Linked DNA regions of Homo sapiens: regions 1, 3, 4 and 5 are each linked to region 2. Evidence: promoter capture Hi-C in human tissues and cell types (Jung and others, 2019). All regions are on one chromosome and are shown on one strand. Each heading gives the region's core, a stretch centred on a gene start or on the middle of the fragment in contact. The rest is flanking DNA. Distances are from core to core; before and after follow the strand shown.

Region 1 (4,218 bases), core at 709-3,208, 1.6 Mb after region 2:
TGGCATAAACCACAAGATTTAATCAGGGTGGTTCCTCAACGTCTTCAAGGACCACATGCCCCCAGGTTGCCACTCTGCCATCGCTAAGGTACTGTCCTCATCCTCCTGGTCCCAGCAGCACATTCTCATATGGGACTGGATAGAAGGAGAATATGGCTCACCCACTCCATCTTAAGGTGCTGCCCCAAAGTCATATGTAATACACATTTATAGCTCATTAGTCACAGCTGAGCATCACGGCTATACTGAGCTTAAAGAAAAGCTGGGAAATGCAGGGTGTAGACAGGCACATAATAAAATTAGTCCTGTTACTAAGAAGTAAGGGAGAGCATGGGTGAGATGGTCTGTCAGTGGTATTAGGCCACAGTCTCTTCTTGTGCCAATAACCTTGTCACGTTTTTTTTGCAAGTCTACCATAAAGACATAATTCTAGAGTCTTAAAATTGACGTCAGTCTCAATTGCAATGCAACAAGATACAAAACAAAGCACAAAAAAAAATGAAAAGAGCACAATAAACAACAGAATGGTGAAGAAAAACCTGACATGCAGAACCATACAAAAATAGGAAATGTTTTCCTTCAAAACTTACACTCACCCACAAACACACCTCCTTCAAATTTAGTAGCATTGAACAAAAACAGAGTTGTGCTTTGCTGGGGCTTCACAGTCAATATGTAGCATGCCTGCCAGCATTCCAAAGAGGAGCAGGGGTTTGATAAATGGCATTGCATGGTCAACTCAAAACCTCATCATCAACTGGGAATTCAAAATACTGCTATGCTGGCAAGAAATCCTTACTGAAGTATGGCCTGGGAGGAAAAGAATGCAGGTCATGCAGGGGTCCAAGTGGTTTTCTTTGCTTCCTGCTACTCCGCTCTGATGCTGCCCTGGCAGCTGGACTGATTGAGTTCTATCATACATTAATGGGAATGGATGACAGAGTGTCACCAACTCGAGTGTCATATGTGCAGTGTGGCTGGGTCCAGAGGTCTGGGAGATGAAGTATGATGTGCCCATCTGTCACCCGAGGCAAAGATGTTCTCCAACCTGAGACTGTGCAAGGCACCTAGGTCTCCACCTGATGTTAGACAGCCTGTTCCTTTATTTAAAAGAAAAATAACTAGGGCTGGGTGCCAGGGCAGAGGCATTGGCTCCCCACCGCCCTCAGCAGGAAAGCTCATTAGCTTAATCTTCAAGCACTCGCAATTGAAAGCAAGGCAACAAGACAGCTCCAGAGAGAACAGCTAAAGCCCTGGCTCACCTCCTTCAGCTCTGAGGGATTCAGGGAAGCAGGGCAGAGGACCACACCCTAGCTCTTTGAGGAGCTTCTCACTCTGGCCTCTATTCAGATTCCTCCCTTAGGACTTAATGCACATGGCTCACCCCATGAGCCCTTCTCTGCTTGCTGGATCACAGACCTCTCTCTCCTCCTCTGAACTCTGAGCAAGGGTTCTGTGCTGGTTGTTATCTGGTTAAAACATCCTGCCTTGCACGGTTTTAACCCACTTATGCTTAGCGTTCCATTATTGGAACGCTAAGCTTGTGGGAGTTATTTATGTCATACTGCTCAAGGTCATCACCAAGGTCTGATTTTTCACACACACAAAAAAAGTGCACCCTCCAGCATAAATGGGTTAACAAGTAGATGTGCATATTCCAGCTGTATTATTTGAACTTAACCATTGTTATAGTTCTTTATAAACCCCACAGAACTAGCATCTATTTGATGGATGATAGATGGTTGCTTCAGAAAGTTGCTTGGGAGGCTGAATGAACCAATATAAATATTCTATACCTGTCTTCTGTAATCCGAGCCCACAGGAAGCCCTCTGAAGCTGCACCTCCAGCATGCCAGATGAACATTTGCTCTCAGCAGCAGATGGGGTCACATGGGCAAGCTTGGATTCAGAGGGGCCATGGCCCCACTGAGGCACCTACCACTGGCTTGAGACCGGCCTAGTGTAGGATTTTATCTGAGATAAAGAACCCTCAACGCTGAATATAAGTTGGTTACTATCATATTCTTGAGATTTCTTTAGCACTGTAGAACCTGCCTCATCAATGATTGACCCTGGATTAATTTAGCCAGTAAAGTTTAAACAGAATCTGATGCTATCCTGATGCTGGAACGACCCGAGAGTTTATCTGAAGATCAGAACGGCCTCCTGCTCAGCTGCTGCATCAGAGCATGTAAACTCAACGCGGGGTCTTCTGGCCTATATTCTTGGTAAGAACTCTGGCCACTTTTTTTTTTTTTTTTTTTTGCATGACTCTCAGTAGACTTAGCTCTCATTATCTGCATAAGAAGATTCCATAGCAAGTCTTTAGGGCTAAATTTGGGGAGAAATTAGGGGAAGGGGTAGCTGCCATCATAGTGTACTGAAAAATGTTGGCATGAAAAATTTAGTAGCCTTGGAAGATTCAGTGGAATGCTTCTTTGCTGTGGGTGTATACAGCTTGTTAGCCCAAGTTCTGTCTGAACCCAGATGGCCAGGTTGAAATGAAACATGAGATTGGCAAGAGCTCTTCTTCCGTTTGGTGCAACTGTATTGCTATGTATACAGGGAGATTTATGGCTTCCTCTGATGGGCCAACATGTTTACACCTTTCCAAAAGAAGATTCTTTAGAGACAGCCAACAGAGAGTGCTTTAATGATGGCACACACGACAGTGGGCTTCTGAAACCTCCACTGCCCCGGCCCCTGAGGCCTGTCAGCTCTGCAGTTGGCTGGTGTGGCTCTGCTCCCACAGACGGGATTGGGCAGAGAGGCGGTGGGAGTGGGAGGAAGCACGGAGATCTGCTACCTGGAGCTTCCCCAGCTGTCAGCAGATGAAGTGGCCTGATGCAGCGTAGGGCCATGGGGACTGGTTGGAACCATGCAGTGGCCAGGCTCGAATTGCAAAGCTGAAGTTTCTCTGCTGTCTTCTTCTTTTTATTTCATCCTTAACAGTGGGGCCAGTTTTCTGTGTCTAAATACACACATGCTAACTGGGGAGCAGGGACAGGGGGAAGAGAGGACTTTGCATATTCAAAATAATGACAATAAAATGCACCGCAATGTATTTAACCAAAGGAAATCATTGAGATGCTCAAAGACCGTCATATGGTGGAGGGAGAATTCTGTTTTTCCCTAGAAGTCAGTAAACGCACTGATTTGGAGAGAGGATAAAGATTTCTTCATAAAATAAAAAACAGACTCTCCAAAAGGGAAGTTTTACTGGATGAAATCAACAGCACTGTGAGGCGGTGAGTTCCGTGACTGCCTGGCAAGCCTTCTAAGGAGGCCAAGTTATCCTTTCCACGGGCCCTGCAGCCAGGACTCTTGCACTAAGTAGAACATTGAGGTCAAAATGCAATGCAGGCTCAATGACTCCACAGGCGTCTGCGAGTAGAAAGTGAGTGAGACACAGGCCTCATCAACATGGAGCCTGGTGCCTTGCTATAGCACTTGGAGCACAGCCCGTGAGTTCAGCATTGTGGTTACCAGTGCAGACTCAGTAATGCAGCAGGAACCGCCCGCGTTTGTAGAGTACATCCCCTGTGCCACTCACATCATCCCCTGTGCCACTCACATCCCCTGTGCCACTCAGCACTTAGGATGCACTGCGTCATAGGCTCCTGACACTGTGGCTCATACTTAACATCTATTAAGGTTACAGAATAGCAGGCAGAGGACCTGGGATTTGATTCAGGTTGTATGACCCCAAAACACGCTCTAATCACTTTCCTAGACAGCCCATTAGAAGCATCCTTTAACCACAGACTGAACGATCTTTTCCAAGGTCCTATGTTCTGTAACTTACCCGGCAGAGAAGCAGCCAGAAGCTGCCTTCTTACATGAGACTAAGTGCAGCTATTTAATGAAGATGACTTGGGCGTCTAGCGTAGGTTAGCAGGTACCTAGTCTATGAAGACACGGAAGATAGTGGTTTCTCTCACGGGAGCTCAGACGGCAGAAACTACAAATGGCCCCGTTACAGGCCGGGCATGGACCAGGGGTCATTTGTAGTCTGATTCAATCTTCATATCGCACCCACTGTGTAGCTCTTACCATCCATTTTGATGTAAAGATGCTGAGTCTCCAAACATTGAACTAAATGTTGTAGGATTATGACTAAAGAATGGAGCAGAGATTTGCATCTAGGCTCTAGCTAGGACCCGTGTTTCAGCTCGCAGCTCACCTCACAAGCACGTGTATGTCAAGAGCAAAAGAAGA
Region 2 (4,171 bases), core at 857-3,356:
TGTGGGGAGAGTTGGGGGAGGATGTGGGGGCAGAGGGTGGAGGAAGCAGTGAGAGGATAAGAGGAGGATGGAGGGGATTGAGGGAAACAGCTGGAGGCTGAGGAAAGATGGGGTTGGGGGGTGGTGGGAAGGGTAGTGGATGCTGGGGGAGGCAGCCTTCTATTTCCATAGGACAAATTTGATACTCTTCTAATCCCTTCAGTGGCCTTCTATTTCCCTAGAACAAATTCCCAAATGGTACTTAACACTCAAGGCCCTTCAGAGGCTGACCCCTGCTCCATCTACTGCCCCCTCCCATGCTGCCACCCCAGCCCCAAGGCTGGCAAATATTGACAGTTCCTGGAACTTTGGGCCACCCTCCTTCTCATCTCTATTCTTTTCCAAAGTGTTGTTCCCCGACCTGGACATTCTTCCTAGCCCCATCCAACTGATGTGATGGACAAACTATACTTCAGATACAGCTGGAGGTGCGGGGGGGGGGGGTCCCTTCTTTTGTGAACCTTCCTAGTGGACCCCAAGCAGAGTTGGTAACTCCATCCTCTGTGCTTACCTCCTTACTGCACTGTGCCTAGGACATGGTCAGGACTCAGAAAGGCTGTGCTAAATAACGCACATTTAACCTGTTTCCTTGTCTTCTCCCCTACTCTAAGGTTGGCTTCATCCTTATATCCTACTGATATGGTTTGGCTCTGTGACCCCACCCAAATCTCATCTCGAATTGTATTCCCCATAATCCCCACGTGTCAAGGGAGGGACTTGGTCGGGGGTGATTGGATCACGTCAGCGGTTTCCCCCGTGCTGTTCTCGTGATAGTGAGTGAATTCTCACGAGATCTGTTGGATGTAAAAGGGGCTTTTGACCCTTTTGCTGGGCACCTCTCTTCCTGCAGCCATGTGACGAAGGACGTGTTTGCTTCCCTTTCCGCCATGATTTTAAGTTTCCTGAGGCTTCTCCAGCCATGCAGAACTGTGAGTCAATTAAACCTCTTTTCTTTATAAATTACCCTGTCTCAGGTGGTTCTTTATAGCAGTGTGAAAACGGGCTAATACACCTACCATACTTCTAACCCCCAACGCCTGACCCACCCTGCCCTGTTTACAACAGTGGCTGGCCTTAGCAAGTCATTATCGAAGAAATCACACCATTTAGGACTCCACTGTACACGTTGGGGTGTTCGCTCCTTGTTTCATGAGGGGCACACCAACTTCCGTTTTTGTTTGTTTGTTTGTTTGTTTGGAGATAGGATCTTGCCCTGTTGCCCTGGCTGAAGTGCAGTGGTGTGATCTCAGCTCACTGCAGCCTCGAACTCCTGGGCTCAAGTGATCCTCTCACCTCTGTCTCCTAAGTGGCTGGGACTACAGGTGTGCAACACCACGCCTGGCTAAGTTTTGTATTTTTGTATTTTTTTTTTTTTTTTTTTTTTTTGTAGAGAAGAGGTCTCTCCATGTTGCCCAGGCTGGTTTCAAACTCCTGAGCTCAAGTGATCCTCCGTCTTGGCCTCCCAAAATGCTGGGATTACAGGAGTGAGCCATTGTCCCCACCCCGCACCAACTTCTGATGAAGTCAGGCTCCTTATTGGCTTTTTCCTGAGTTGCCAGGTTGACACATTGGTGGGTGCTTTTCGATGGTTCGCAACCTACGCACGTCGTAATCATCCTTGGACCTTTTCAAAAATCAAGATTGACGCTTGTTGGCAGCAAGGCCTAGGAATGTGGAGGCTGAAGGAGGTGAGGGGAGGTGCTGGGAGACCTGGAAGGAGTGTGAACTACAGGCCCCGCGAAAGGCAGAGGTCTCGCTCCTGGATCCGGAAGAAGGCTGCTGAGCGGGCTTTCATTTCTTATGTATGTGCAGTTTCTTCTGAAGATATAATTGATGTTTATTTCTCTGAATAAGCTTGATTATAATGGAAAATAGGGATAATAAATTAACTGTAATAAGAGTGACATTGACACTGAAAAACCTTGCCTGGGGCGCTTGTCCTGGGTGTCCCCGCCCCGCGGCCCCTCCAGCCCCGCCTGCTCTACGCCCCGCCCCGCCCCTCCCCTCCACGCCCAGGGGGCGTGGCAACCCGGAGTCCCTCCCCTACCCAGGGCACGTGATCTGTCAGTTCGCGGAGAGGGAAGAATATGGCCGCCGGGTGTGGTGAGGGCGACGCGCTTGCAGTCGCCGTCTCTTGCTTCCCCGTCCTCTGACATCGCCTGCAGCCGAGCGGGCCCGTTCCGCCGGAGCTGAGGACCAGGTTGGGAGACCGTCAGTGTGGAGGCCGGTCCGCGAAGCTTTGCCGCGGGATTGGGGAGGAGTCGGGGGCGAGGCCGGGCTCGGGGAGTCGGGCGGGGAGGTGGGACAGCCGAGGAGTGCGCGGAAGGGGCGAGCTCGGACCGGGGGTCCCGGGGAGGGCATGGCGCGGGCCCCGGACGCTCGGGCCCCGGCTTTCGGGGCGAGTCCGCGTTTCCTGGAGCGCCGGGAAGGTCTCCGACCTTGGAGTCTCTGGTGGTCTGTCTCCTGAGGGGCCCCTCGGGTGGGTTGGGGTGAAGGGTGTTGGTAAAACCGTTTTTTTTCTTTTGCCAAGCAGCCTCTGGCACATCCACCACCTTGAGAGCCCCCTTAGCTGGTACCGCTAGTCTTTCTAGGTTCCTCCTCCTAGGCTTCCACGGGCCGGGAGGTGTTGTTTTCTCCCTTGCTTTTATCGTGGGCTCCATTGCTCCATTGTCCTGTGCAGGCTTTTAAACGCCTGGCAAAATAGTGCAAGCCATTGATTTCCACGCCTCCAAGATTTATTTATAGGGAAATAATTTCTTCATCACTTTGTAATGTTGGAATTTTTATTCTTTCAAGTTGACAGGTTTAAACCGATGAAAAATTTTTTTATGAATAACTATGCAGCCATCTCTGCTCCCTATGGGCGCTTGTTAAAAATGTAGATTTCTTAGCGTTTTAGAGATTCCCATTCCTTCGGCCTGAGGTGTGGCTCGGGAATCACCCCTTCAGGTTCGTTCCTGTCCACATTTTGACAACACTGAGGACCAGACATCTACACCTTTTTAAACCACCGTGGGGTATTGAGTGCAGAGCCCAGGTTGGGAAATGCCGTGGCCAGGTGTGTTCTTTGTTCTCTTCTAGCTTTACTAGCATGGACTACTTTCATCAGAATCATTTTGGGGTGCTTGTTAAAATGTCAGTTTCTGGGCACCACCCCAGATCTAGGGAATGGGATTCTCCCGGGGAGGAGCTCAAGGGATATGTGTATTTGACAAGCTTCCCAAATAATTTTGGTGCACACAAGTTTGAGAATCCTTGTTCTACACCCTTTGTGTGAATAATTTCCAGATCATTCACACACAGTGTGAACGGTATCTTTTTCCAAGTATTGGGTGGGTTTCTCCAACCTAGTTCTTTTGGGACACTTCAAATTCAGCCTGGCCAAAGCCCCATTCGCCCAGCTGGGGTGGTGGAAGGGAGGAGGCATAACTTAAGTAGAGAAAAGTCTGCTCTTTCTCCTGCTTTTTTTTTTTTGGTTAAGGGCAGCTCCATTCTTCAGTCACCTATGCTGGGCATCTGGTCATCTTCCACCTGTTTTCTTTTCCAACCAGTCACATAGTTTTATCTTTATATCCAGAATATCTCTTCTGGATATTTTGGTAGTTCAGAAAGTTCAAATGTCAGGGATTTTATATTTTTCAAGTTAATATCCCTCATTTCTTCTCTATTCCCACTGCCTCTCTTGTGTACTGTCTGGTGATTCCTTGACTGGTATCTAGGGCCCTGATTCTTTGTATTTTTCCAGTCTGGGTCACATACACTGCCAGATTAATTTTTATAGGATCATGTATGAATGTGCCATCCCCTTCTTCCTGCTTTTGCTCAAGAACGGTCAGTTTCTCCATTTTATGTGCTACTGTATTTGTCAGGGCTGTTTAGAAGACAGTAGAAACTTAAACCTTTTACTTCAAGGAAAAGGAGATAATAGGATTGAATGAGAGTCAGAAAGAAGTCAGGATCCCAGGTACCTCCATTTTCTACATCTCCCTGGGGCAACTTTTTTTTTTTTTTTTTTTTTTTGAGACAGGGTCTGGCTCTGTTGCCCAGGCTGGAGTGCAGGTGGTGTGATCTTGGCTCACTGCAGCCCTGACCTCCTCTTAGGGGCCACATTTGTTCTCTTACTTAGGAGGAG
Region 3 (4,030 bases), core at 1,393-3,892, 1.7 Mb after region 2:
TCAAATTCTGGATTTATTTTGAAAAGAGTCTGCTGAGATTTGCCACATAAGCAGAAAGAAATGCAACATGATGCACTTCCTGGTCTCTGGCTTGGGAAACTGCAAAGAGGGATTCTCATCCCCTGAGATGCAGGTGGCAGTTCTGTGTAGGAACAGAGGAACGAGGCCTCGGTTTTGGATAGGTTATGTGGTGATGCCTATTGAATATCCAACAAAAGCTGTCAGGTAGACAGATTGAGAAGTCTGGAGTTCAGTGGAGGGAGGCTGAAATATATACTCAAGATTACAGAAGTTATTTAAAGCAACAAGATGGGAAGAACAGCAAAGGAGTAGTGTATCTGTAGAGAGAAGGAAAGGGCCAAGGGAGAGACCTGGGCTGCTCCAGCACTGGGTAATGTCTCCAGGAGGACTGCCCCAGGGGGGACTTTGAAGAGCCCAGGACTTGTGGCTCCCAAACCTGTTTCAAAAAAATTCACTCCACTTTTTGTGGAAAGACACATGGCATAGTTGTTCTACCCACATTGGACCCAGACTGCTTGGGTTCAATTGCATCTTCTACCACTCACAAGCCTTATAGCTTTCAACAGGACAGTTAATATCTTACTGCATTGGTTTTTTTCATCTATAAATTGGGAATAATAAGGCTACCTTCCTAAACTTGTAGATTTATTATGAGGATTATATGAGTTAAATATCTTAGTAAAGGGTCAGACACAAAACGTGCACTGAAAAAATGTTAGATGTTATTATCTATTTTATGGCTTGGGGTTATAAATAATTTCCCATTGGAACAAAGAAGTTGACTACTCTAAAGAACTTTGTAAAAATGACTAGTAAACCTTTATAACCAACGTTTATAAGTAAAAACAAAGTATTAAGTGTGCATAATTATGCATTAACATTGGGAGGTAAACGAGAGCATCTTAATACTAATTATGGCCAAAAAAACACAAAAAGTGTTATAGAACATAAATGTCTCAATTGGAGAATTGTATTGTTTGCCAAAAACAGGGAAAATGTAAATTGTAGACATGTATAGCAGAAGACTGTCCCACTGGCAAAACTGTCAGTCGAGTCTCCTTTAGTATAAACTCTAATAAACATGTAAATGAGCCCAGTTAGAATATGCTGTTTCTGACTACTGAAAGCTTTCATACAGTAGCATCTACAAGCTAGTCACTCCTTTGTTATTTCTTTATTGAAGGAGCAATTTTCCAACGCAAACCTAGACTTGCACAGATGCATTTTCCTGAACTGTAGGATCAGGGAGCAGAGTGGCAAGCTCTGAGAGGCCTGGCAGATCAGGAAATTTACTACAGAGAAACTGCACGCCTTGTTCAAGTTTGCAGGCAGAACTGAGACAGAGCCTAGGTCCCAGGTTCTCACATTTAAACAGCGTGGCATTGCCTCCTCAGCCCAGGTCTGCCTCCCACCTAAAATGTTGGTACTGTTGGTATGAAGCAGGTCTTCTATCAACAAAAGGAGCAACGTGGTGGTGTGAGATCCTGCAGAGCCTGCCAGGGTTTTTATTCTGGTTTAGAGTACGCATATGGAATGTGCTTACTCTAACACTCTGAATAAGACTTCAAATCCAAGCCCTACTTGTTAACAGCGTATCTATCTTGAGACTTGTGCACTAGGCCACTTGGAAAAGCCAAGCTCCTACCCCAAAATATTGGTAAGTTGAATTCCCACCAAGTTGCTGTTTGAAAACTGAGTACCTGTCTGTCTTGAGTAGGCCTTTGCAGGTACTGCTGGGAAGCTCTAAGTCTCTAAATATTTGTGATGGTGAAAAGTTGTAATCAAGGAGATAATTGCTACCTGAGACTGTTTTTCCCTTTCCAGTGATATTAAAAGACATCTGTAAGAAAAATTATGTCTTGTATGTTCCAGCAGTTTGCACTTTTCACCTCTATCAACCTTATAAGGCAGGAAAAATTTTCCCTATTTTATGTATCTGGCCCAAGTTCATATACCGAGTCTAAAATAAGAAATGACACTGAGAATTATCTGAATTCAAAATGTTGGCTCTTTTCAACACATAATATCTACTTCTGAAAATGTGAACTTTCTCATTAGGTTTAATCTGTTAAACTTCTCTATTCTTATGTGACAATACCAAAGCATCTTTAAATTCTTCTGATAAAGTAACATAATGTGTTCATTTTGATGACAGAGCCAGGTGAAAATGTCTAGATGGTTCAACCAAAATTCAGAGAGAAATTTCTGTTGGATTAAGTCTCTAGTGTCAGGTCCACAATGTGCAGACTTTTGCCCCTTTAGATGGAAAAACAATATTTACCAATTTTTGTAATTGAAGAAGTAAATGTTCACCTCTAGAAGAACACTGCCAATTATGTGAATAGCATTAAAAACTCCAAAGCAAAGCTAACAAAAGTAGCACATTTTTATAAAACTGCAGAAGTTTGATTTAATCTGTGAGAATTTCTTCTTCACACAGATTTTTGTCATCTCTCTTAGCTCCAGGGGCCCCTTGATGACAAATTAGCAAGGTGCTACTGTCTTGAAACTAGCAGACATTTTAGCACACTGACATTCAGCATTGTGACCTGCTTCTTGCTAGACTGCTAATTAATATTTGCACTGGCTACAGAATTAGCTTGTTTTTTAGACTATTTCACATTCAAAGACTGCCTCCAAGGGAAGCAGGATTTTATTGAAAAGCCAACTTTAACTTTGTTTTATTAATATTTATAAGAAGAACCACTACAAAGTCTCTACTTTTGCTAGACCATGCAGGCATCTTGCATGTTTTGTACTGTCTCAACTGCACTGCAATTGGGCAAGATAAATAACATTGCCCCGATTTTGTGGTTTAGGAGACTAAGCCTCTAAAGTGTAAATAATTTGCCCAAGAACATGTCGTTGCTGAGGGCTGCAACTGAGATTCAAATCTGCTAACAGAATCCAGAGATGTTACTAAATGGACCAGACCATCATCATCCAGCTAAAGACAATCCACTAGACAGGGGAATAGAAATCAATTCAAACTTCAAGTTATGCACTGCTGCTATGAATGGAGTGTGTGTGCTGTTCCTCTACTCTCAAATTCAAATGCTGAAGCCGAAATTCCTAATGTGTTGGTATTCAGATGTAGGGCCTATGGGAAGTAATTAGGTCATGAGGGTAGAGTCCAGTGAATGGGATTGGTGCACTTATAAGAAGAAATAAGGGAGCTTACTCTCCTCGACCCCCCATCACGTAAAGGTACCATGATAAAACAGCCATCTGCAAACCAGGAAGGGCAACTTCACCAAACACCAGATCTGCCAGTGCCTTGACCTTGGATTTCCAGCCTCCAGAACTGTGAGAAATCAATTGCTGATGTTTAAGTCACCTAGTCAATAGTATTCAGTTATAGCAGCATGAACTAAGACATTGCCTAAGCAGGAGTCCTACATTACTATAGTTTTCCTGCTCCAAAAAAGAAAAATAAGATGTTCTTCGAAACCCAGTGATTTTACTGGGAGTTGTGTTCCTACACCAGTGCTCCCCTGCTATCCCACCAGCATGCAAATATTATCACAAATAGCTTTAAAAAACATAAAACAAAAACCACAGCCATTCTGACTAGTTGGTGCTCAGTGCTGCACCAGCTATTAAATATTTTGAATAGTGCTGAAAAAGAACAGGAAGTGCATCTTCCAGTGTTTCTTTGTGAAGACAAGACAGTTTTCTTGATTCAAGACAATATAGTTGAAGATATATGAACATATATTCCATCCACTCACCTATATCTTTGTTGAAAGAGTTACAAAAGTAAAATCAAAGAGATACATATATTTTTATTGATCCTATAAATTTCTTTGCAAAGTCACCCCAAAGTTAGCAAATTTTCCAACCTATATTAGTTCCTTCTAAAATACTCTGACTACAAAAATAATATAAAAATTCCTATTCTATTTTACAACTTTGGGATACAAATGGAGTGGATTTTTATATAAATCTTCTCCCAGCTCAGGCCTCATTTTCCTTTACATGTCTAATTTCTTCATGGGAAAACAGTAGG
Region 4 (4,559 bases), core at 1,349-3,848, 1.4 Mb after region 2:
CAAGCCACAAACTGGGAGGAAATATTTGCAGAAAGAAATCTCTGATAACGGACCGCTACCCCAAATATACAAAAAACTCTTAAAACTAAATTGTAAGAAAATAAACAATTCAATAAAAGTGTCCTAAAATCTTAACCAACACCTTGCCAAAGAAGATACACAGATGTCATGTAAGCATATGAAAAGATACTCCACATCATATATAATTAGGGAAATGTAAATTCAAACAATGAAATACTGCTACACACCTATTAGAATGTCCAAAATTCAGAACATTGACAACATGAAATTCTGATGAGGATTTGGTACTCCAAATCTCATACATTGGGAACTCACATATATTGCTGATGGGAATGCAAAATGGCACAGCCACTTTCTAAGCCAGTTTGGCAGTTTCTTACAAAACTAAACATACTTTTACCATATAATCCAGTAATCATGTTCCTTGACACTGATCCAAATGAATTGAACGCTTATGTCCACAAAAATACTTGCACATGGGGTTTATAGCAGGTTCATTTATAATTAACAAAACTTGGAGGCAACCAAGGTGTCCTTCAGTAGGTAAATGCACAAACTGGTAATCTAGACAATAGAATACTATTTAATACAAAAAAAAAAAACTTTAAGCCATGTAAAGACATGGGGGAAACATAAATGCACATTACTAAGTAAAAGAAGCCAATCTGAAAAGGTTACATAAGATATGATTCTAGGTAAATGGCATTCTGGAAAAGGCAAAACTGTGGAGACAGAAAAAAATGTAATTGTTCCCAGGGGCTGGGGAGAGGGAATGATGAATGGTGGATCACAGGGGATTTTTTGGGGAAGTGAAACTGTTCTGTATGATACTATAATGGTGAATACAGGCCATTACAGATTTATCCAAAGCCATGGCATGTATGAATTTGGGGTGCTAATGATGTGTCAATATAGGTTCATCAATTGTAACAAATTTCCCACTCTGGTAAAAGATGTTGATAGTGGGAGGTTATGTATATGTGAGGGCAGGGAAAATATGGCAAATACCTGCACCTTCTGTTCAATTTTACTAGAAACCCAAAACATAATTAAAATATTTATTTAAAAAAGGGGGTCAGAGTTGCAAGACACTGCTGGCAACTGCAATTGCACACATGTGAAATAATAATGAATACTTGACAATAGAGGCCTTAAAACTCCACAGCGAAACTGAGATCAGGGCTGGAGAGTGTGGTTACATATAGGAGTCATATCTCAAATAGAACCTAGAGAATTAGGCATGGAGTATAGGAAGTGCAAGGTAGAAATGAGGGTAGTTCCTGAGACTCTAGTACTCTTTCTTGGAAGCCTGAGATTTTAAACCTACATTAACTTACATGGCAATAGAAACAAACGTAGGAGTAGGATTGGCTCAGTTGGTGAAAGCAATGTCATCTCAAAGTACTACAATGCTCTCCATTGCACTGGTGAGAATATTAGCAACTTTGAGTGCATTAACTTAAATAGTTCTCAAAAGAATGTGGTATATTAAGCACTAGCATACTCATTTATTAGAGGAAATATGGTTAGAGTGGTTAAATAACTCCCAAAACCACTCTGTCCTCTTCCTCGAGACTCTAGGCTTGAAGTCATCCTTTGAGGTTCATGTTTTCATTTGTTGACTTGGGTATTTTTGGGAGAGAACAAGTGTTTCTTTCTTGTTCTAAAGTCTAGGAAAATGGATTCTGCCAACTGAGGGAATCAAGGGTCAACTGGAGTACTGAAATTAAATGTGTAATTCATTACTTGCTAGTCCAGAACAGGGTTGAAGGTAGAGCTTGTTCACTAACACCTGGGTCTACAATGAATGTTCCTGCCGGCTGCAATTCTCTCTGGGAGAATATTGAGTAATAGATCAATCCAATAATCTCTATGAGTGTGACACCAAATCTGAAGCAAAATGGGCACAAATCTGGAAAGGAATTAAGATGCAGAAAGAGGAAAGAGAGCAGAGATCCAGGTGTGAGAATACCTGAATGTGCTGGAAGCAGGAATTGAGCAAGTCACTTGCATCTCTAAGCTTCTGCTTTATCAGCTACAATACAAGGAGGACACCTTCTTTGCCCAACTGCTACATGATCCATGTGGAACACCTCATGTGTGTAAAGCAATGGTGCATCCAGGGGCCCCTGCTGCTAGACTATGACTCTGGACTCAGGATTTTGCCTCTGCCTTTTCCTGGCCAACCTTTCTTAGCTCCTCACTGTAAATTAAGGTAAGACATTTCAGAAAGTCTTCCATGACTCTAACACTTTAAAGCTCTCATTGTCTAGGCAGTGAATGAGGTAAGGCGTTGCATTGTTAAATGCCAAATACCAACTGTGTAGGAGAAAAAAAAACTGCCACCTTATTTAGGATAGCAATTATTATGAGGAGTAAGTTGCACTTTGAAACAGAAATGATTTTATGTTGATCCTTTCCCTATGAGCATCAGGGGCTGAGCTAGGAAGGAGTCCTCAGCCAGGTTTTCAGGCTGTTGAGAGCACATTTTTCCCCTGCAGCAGAAATGTGGCAAAAAGAGAAGAACAAAAGCAATATAGGACCTCAGTTTTCATAATTAAAAACAGATCCCCAAACACTGATGCTGAGCATGAATTCTGAGCAAATGAAGTAAGTATTAAAACAGTAATGCTCATGATATCTGCTTAGTGGCCACCAAATGTACAACTACTCTTTCGCAGTTACCATCTCAGAGATACAGTATACATTGGGACTAAGTGTTCTCATGACTACCTTTAGGCTAAGCAGTTTCACCAGGAATTATGGAATGAAAAATATCAGCCTATCTCTAGCTCTTCTCTACTCAAGAATCTTGGTGTGTTTTTTTTGGTTTTTTTCTTTTTTAATTTTGCCTGCTATTCTGCAGTGAGAGAGACTTTCAGAAATATTCAATACTTTCTATCCTGGTACTAGGAAAATGAGGATATAGAAATTTCATTCGAATGAACTTTCCAGGGATTTATAGCCTCTGGAGTTACTATAGTAAGTGTGTATCTTCTGATGAGTAATCCACAGGAAAATCACTGGGCTGAAGAGTTCAGTGCTTGAATATTGTGTCTGAAATTACAACAAAATTTAAAGAACTCTTTGAAAAATCTTGTAGAGGATTTATCAATAGTAATGCAAATTCAACTTTTGATAAAAGACAGAGCTCTCAACAAACATGATAAAAATGAGCCAAAGGTACCCAAGCCAGCTGACATTTGTTTATGATGGAAGGATTAAGTTTAATTCACTTTTGTTCTTAAATGTTCACATTTACAACAACCAAAATAACATGTATTTAACTAATGTATAATTTGAAAAAGCTTTCATATAGTATGTTAAATGTAAATGTCTATTACCTCATTTGATATAACACATGTACTTTAAGAAGTTCTTGTAAACTAATATTTAGTGAATTAATCAGTGGTTTACTTCTTCATTCTGGGGCCAGTGTGGGTCTTCAATTGAGTGTTAGGTGATAAGGAAATGCATGCTGCACACAGAGCTCAAGGATCTCATTATCACACACTTCGTATTGCTAGATGTGTTGCTTTGGGAAGGCCGTGACCTTCTCTCTGGGACTCAGTTTCCTTGCCTTATGGAACAAAGGAGCCAGTGCAGGCTGACATTTAGGCCCTCGGGAGCTTCCTCAGGATGAAATGACCCATTGGGTCTCCCATGTGGTGAGCCTCGGTTAGCAGAAGCCAGGGCTTGCTACCCAGGGCATTAACTACACATAGTGGTCTCCATCAGTGGAAGAGTGAGCGCAAAGGCCTTCATCCTCCAAGATGGCCTGCATACACATGGATGTCCCCAAGTTCAGTGGCACCACCGTTAGTCTAGTGCTGTGCCCTTGAGCCGGGCAGGCCCTTCAGCTTCCCAAGCCTTCATTTCCCATCTGCCCAGTGGAGATAAGAACACCTGCCAGGGCTGTGCATCCTGTGAAATACGTGAGATGATGTGTGTCAATCCAGGGCACAGGACTTGGCCCCTAGCACCAGCTTGGAAAATGAAAATTCTTCCATTCAGGGTCCCAGGGGGTAGAAAGTAAGAAAATATAACAATAAAGGAGGGAGGGGGAAGGAAAGATAGATTGCCATTCTTTAAATAAAATCAGGGAGCGAGGTGTGAGAAAAATAGAGAAAGGCAGAGAGTATGAGAGAGAGGAATAGCTACAGGCACTTGGAATAGTGCTGCAAGATTCTCATAAGTAAAAGCTTCTCTTAAAATATTGGAGTTCCTCCATATGGGAAGCTTGGGGAGAGAAGAGAAAAAATTAAATTAAAGCATTTGAAAGTATATTATAGTTTTATCTCTTTGGCTCTGCGATTTCAGAAATAATATAATCCTATGGAAAACATGCTGCCAGAGGATTTTGTATAGTGGCGCCCCGACAGGATGGGACTGAATGATGTCAAAAAAGCTTATATAACAGTTTTGTTTTATTCATTTACATAAATCACATTTACCGTAGGTGTTTTATTCAAAATAAAGTTTGGGAAAAATAAATTGAACAGATGAACCTAGGCAAACCTGGTGATTTTTTCATGAGT
Region 5 (4,176 bases), core at 1,264-3,763, 1.6 Mb after region 2:
TAGACCCCATAATTAGGCTCTTGGAGAACAGAAGACTAAAGGCTTGGCATAGAACGAGATTCCCAAAGCTCTGGATTGTACATAGTGGGTAGACAGTGAAAGCTTTCAAATATTGGAGGATTCGAATCCTACATGTTATGTACTGTTGGGTAGAAAGAAGAAAAAGGAAAGAAACAATGAACGGCATCTTGACTGCAGTCATGACTCCAGAGCTTCATCCATTCTGACCTCATAGGCAAATGACTCCTAGAAGAAAAAGAAGCTTCCTCTTTAAATGTTTTAGCATTAGAGATGATGTAGCTAGAGGGGTGACGCCTGCCCTGCTCTGGAAGATCTGCTATATCATGGTTATCTATTTAGAATGTCATAAAAAATTTAATACCCACCTGACCAGGTTGGCAAATTGACATTCAAAATGAATCACATAACCCATTATTCACATAGCCCATTTTGAAATAGCTTCTCCAAGGCCTACAGAAGCCAGTGGAGAAGAAGATGCTTCTCTTCTGGGTACCACACTGACATGAGGCAGTTTATCTTCTAAAGAAGCTGATCTCTGGAGATGGGTTATGCTTGCCAACTCTGAGGATTAGAGACAACAGGAGCTTGTTCACAGTGAGCTGGACCTCAGATGTCCTCAGCATTCCTTTTAAATTATAAAACTCCCTGCTCAGAATTATGAAATGTATTTATATTTATATTTAACCTTAATTTCACCAAATGCTCAAACTGTGCTCAAATAAGACAAACGCCAAACTGTAACCAATCCAGTTGTTTCTGTACCTCACTTCCATTTTCTTTACGTTACTCGCCTTTCACTGTCCACAGATTTTCTTTCACCACAGGACTCCACTGGAGTCTCTCTAAATCTACTGTGATTCTGGGGGCTGCCCAATTCACAAATCATTCATTGCTCATTTAAACTCCTTTAAATTTAATTAAACTGAAGTTTTTCTTTTAACACTTTTCTTTTTTTAAAATCACCTTAATTCTGATTTAATTTCAATAAAACTACAAAACTGCTATTTAACACACTTTGTCTAGCAATTGACTAAAATGCTGTGATTATATATAATTATTTTAATATAATAATGTTAAAATTATATATAAATATATATTAAAATATTACGTAATTATCTTTGCATATGTATTCAGATGCTGTGATTATATAATTTTATTTATGTGTGTGTGTATATATATATATATATATATATATAAAATTGTCTTCTTTTTTTTTAACTTTGCTCTTAACCCCTCATTTGCCTTGTGCCCAACTTCTGAAGGCATCTCTAGAGACCCTTTCAACCATTGCAGTTCCTCCTCGGCCTACAGAAGCCAGTGGAGGAAAAGATGCTTCTCTTCTGGGTACCACACTAACTGACATGAGGCAGCTTACCTTCTAAGGGAGCTGATCGCTGGAGATGGGTTATGCTAGCCGACTGAGGATTAGAGACAACAGGGTCTTGTTCACAGTGAGCTGGACCTCAGAGTTTTACCATTTGGCATAGAAATTTAACTCTGATCCCATAAAGTACCCTGCTTAGAAAATGGACTGCATCCACTTTAATTATCCAAAGCTTCCCGGCTGCCAGAGCCAGGTGCATAGTCAGGCCCTCGCGCGCTCGTGAACCCCTCAGGATGCAGTTACAGGCACAGTAACTAGAGAAGCACACCCAAATCAAATTTAAATTGTAATTAATTGTTGGATATTCATTTTTAAAACTAGCTTCAAAATCCAAGTTTATACATTTTTTTTTCTTAGATAGATCTACTTTTTCTTTAAAAACTTTACTCTTTAGGTTGGCCTGAATCCGGCCAGTGATCTCATGATTCTAACATTCATGTGAATATTCTGATATGCTTTGAGGACCCTTCTTTTCTTTCTTACAGGTATTGACAAATTAGCACTGCCTGTCTCAGGTAGGGGACACCATTGCTTCTTTAGGAGAAAGCAATATGTGTAGTGGTGAGAACGCAGGTATTGGAGACAGAATTGGCTTCTAATTCTTGTTCTTCTACTTACTAGTTTTATGGTATCAGTCAAATTAAGTATTCTCTTCAAGCCTCAGTTTCCTCATCTGTAAATTGGGGATAATTATAAAAATGGCAGCTATTGTATTTTCATATTATTCTATTTTGCTTTGTCTATTTACTTTTATATTATTTCATAATCCTACATCACTTATAACTTAAAGAATACATCTTCCTGAGGCCAGGCATGGTAACTCATGCCTGTAATCCCAGCATTTTTGGAGGCCGAGACAGGCAGACTGCATGAGCTCAGGAGTTCAAGACAAGCCTGAGCAACAGGGTGGAACCCCATCTCTGCAAAAAATTAGCCAGGTGTGGTGGCATGCACCCGTAGTCTCAGCTACTTGGGAGGCTGAGGATCACCTGAGGCTGGGGAGGTCAAGGCTGCAGTGAGCTGTGATTGCACTACTGCACTGCAGCCTCAGTAACAGAGTGAGACCCTATCAAGAAAAAAAAAAAAAAAAGAATGTCTTCCTTTCCTATAATGCGAATTACTACTAAAAATGTCAACATTGCATTTCTGATTTCCACTCCATGAGTTAAACTCTCCAATTACATCATCACTAAATATTTAGGTGGTTTAATCCATATTTTCCCTATTCATTGAAGAATATAGAAAGTGAAAGCAATTTATAACTTCCCTTTAATACACCTGGATATTAGTTATTGGTTCAATTTGGACTGTGCAGTTTCATAAAGCAAACGGATTTTTCCCCACAAAACTATGAATTTATGAAAGCTGGAAATAAATTATATCCTTTGATACATGTTTTATAGAGACATGAAAAGTGAGGATTAAAATCATTTGTTTTATTTTTTCTTTTTTCAGGATTCACCAATAGGTGTACATTAATATTTTCCTTGCCTTGGAGAATTCAACTCAATTCCAAGTGTTCTAAAAGAGACAAAACAATTTAACACCAAAAGATGTAATCCAATTTCTTGCATACCCCCCTTCCCTGGAAGCTTCATTATAAAGCTTGTCTCAGGCCTTATAGATGACTTTTAAAACCTACTTTAAAAGATTCGGAGTTTAATATGAAATGGTAAAATGTGATAGTGAGGGCTTCTTAATGTGATAGTAAGGGCTTCCTAATGTCCCCAGTAAGAAACATCATTGAATAGAGGACCAAACATGCCATCTTTGTCAGGAGTGGGCACGATCAGAGGCTCCTGAGGAGAGGGCAGCGGGATCCACCTTGTACTGAAAAATCACAGTGGGTCTGAATGTTCGTGTTCCTACAAAACTCATAGGTTGACATCCTGACCCTCAAGGTGACGGTATTAGAAGATGAGATCTTTAGGGAGTGATTAGATCATGGGGATGACAACCTCATGAATAGAATTAGTGTTTTCATAAAAGATGCCCAGGACAGACCATTACCTCCTCCACCGTGTGAGGATACAGCCAGAAGCAGCCACTCATGAATCAGGAAGCGGTCCCTCACCAGACACCAAATCTGCCGGCACCTAGATCTTGGAATTCTAGCCTCCAGAATTGTGAGAAATAAATTTCTGTAGTTTATAAGCCACCCAGTATTTTTGCTGTAGCAGCTGGAATATACTAAGACCGTATCTCTTTTTGTGTCCTTCACTGTCATTGATCAGGAATTTTTAAATTTCAGAAGGAATTCTTATTTTTCAAAGATTAATGAACACACTCATTTTATGTTGACTTCATTGATAAAATCTAGAATAGAATAAAGAAAGAATTCCAAATTCTCATACAGATTTCCTTTAGGACACTCTTCTTAGATACTTAGAAAGGAAACAAAGAAGAAAACTCCTAAAACAATAATGCCAAATTTGAAGAAAAAGCTAAACTTGAAACTTTGTGATTTTAGGCACATTAGTTTCTTTTTAGCTGTATTTTCCATCACCTAACCCATTCAAAATCCTTTTCCTGACATAGTATAACTGAAAGCAGGTAAAGAGGTAAAGGGAAGAATAAGTTTCCTTTGCTCTCTCTGGATGTTGCCTGGGCACTGACATTTGCAATTCAGTATGCTTCTCAGTCCCCAACCGGTCCTGGAAGTCCAGATCATCGTGGAAGCCAAGAACACCTTCTGCCCTCTGATTTTGGCACAGCGGTGGCCACTTCACTCAGATGTGTGCCTCCCGGCAGTTATTCCCGCCGCAGGGCCT

Evidence for each region. The method cuts DNA at HindIII sites, captures the fragments that hold promoters and counts their contacts. A contact is called where the count stands out against the background at its distance.
Region 1: a fragment that was not itself captured here is called in contact with the fragment with the promoter of KIDINS220 in region 2 in 1 of the 25 tissues and cell types used here (dorsolateral prefrontal cortex).
Region 3: a contact is called between a fragment that was not itself captured here and the fragment with the promoter of KIDINS220 in region 2, in 1 of the 25 tissues and cell types used here (dorsolateral prefrontal cortex).
Region 4: a fragment that was not itself captured here is called in contact with the fragment with the promoter of KIDINS220 in region 2 in 1 of the 25 tissues and cell types used here (dorsolateral prefrontal cortex).
Region 5: a fragment that was not itself captured here is called in contact with the fragment with the promoter of KIDINS220 in region 2 in 1 of the 25 tissues and cell types used here (lymphoblastoid cells).

What each region holds. Positions count from the first base shown.
Region 1 is chr2:7,206,918-7,211,135 of GRCh38, reverse strand. No RefSeq gene overlaps it. Among named protein-coding and RNA genes, the nearest start is that of GRASLND, 290 kb to the right of the region's middle. The HindIII fragment of the contact is 3,264 bases long and covers 327-3,590 here.
Region 2 is chr2:8,835,548-8,839,718 of GRCh38, reverse strand. It overlaps KIDINS220 (kinase D interacting substrate 220), which reads left to right and starts at 2,106. Exons shown (of 30, transcript NM_020738.4): 1 at 2,106-2,239. RefSeq lists silencers at 1,930-1,979, 1,990-2,049. The HindIII fragment of the contact is 2,236 bases long and covers 531-2,766 here.
Region 3 is chr2:7,128,938-7,132,967 of GRCh38, reverse strand. The region is part of intron 1 of LOC124908053 (a long non-coding RNA gene); the gene reads right to left. Among named protein-coding and RNA genes, the nearest start is that of GRASLND, 210 kb to the right of the region's middle. The HindIII fragment of the contact is 9,186 bases long and covers 1-4,030 here.
Region 4 is chr2:7,408,167-7,412,725 of GRCh38, reverse strand. No RefSeq gene overlaps it. Among named protein-coding and RNA genes, the nearest start is that of LINC01871, 320 kb to the left of the region's middle. The HindIII fragment of the contact is 4,298 bases long and covers 450-4,559 here.
Region 5 is chr2:7,237,642-7,241,817 of GRCh38, reverse strand. No RefSeq gene overlaps it. Among named protein-coding and RNA genes, the nearest start is that of GRASLND, 320 kb to the right of the region's middle. The HindIII fragment of the contact is 3,186 bases long and covers 921-4,106 here.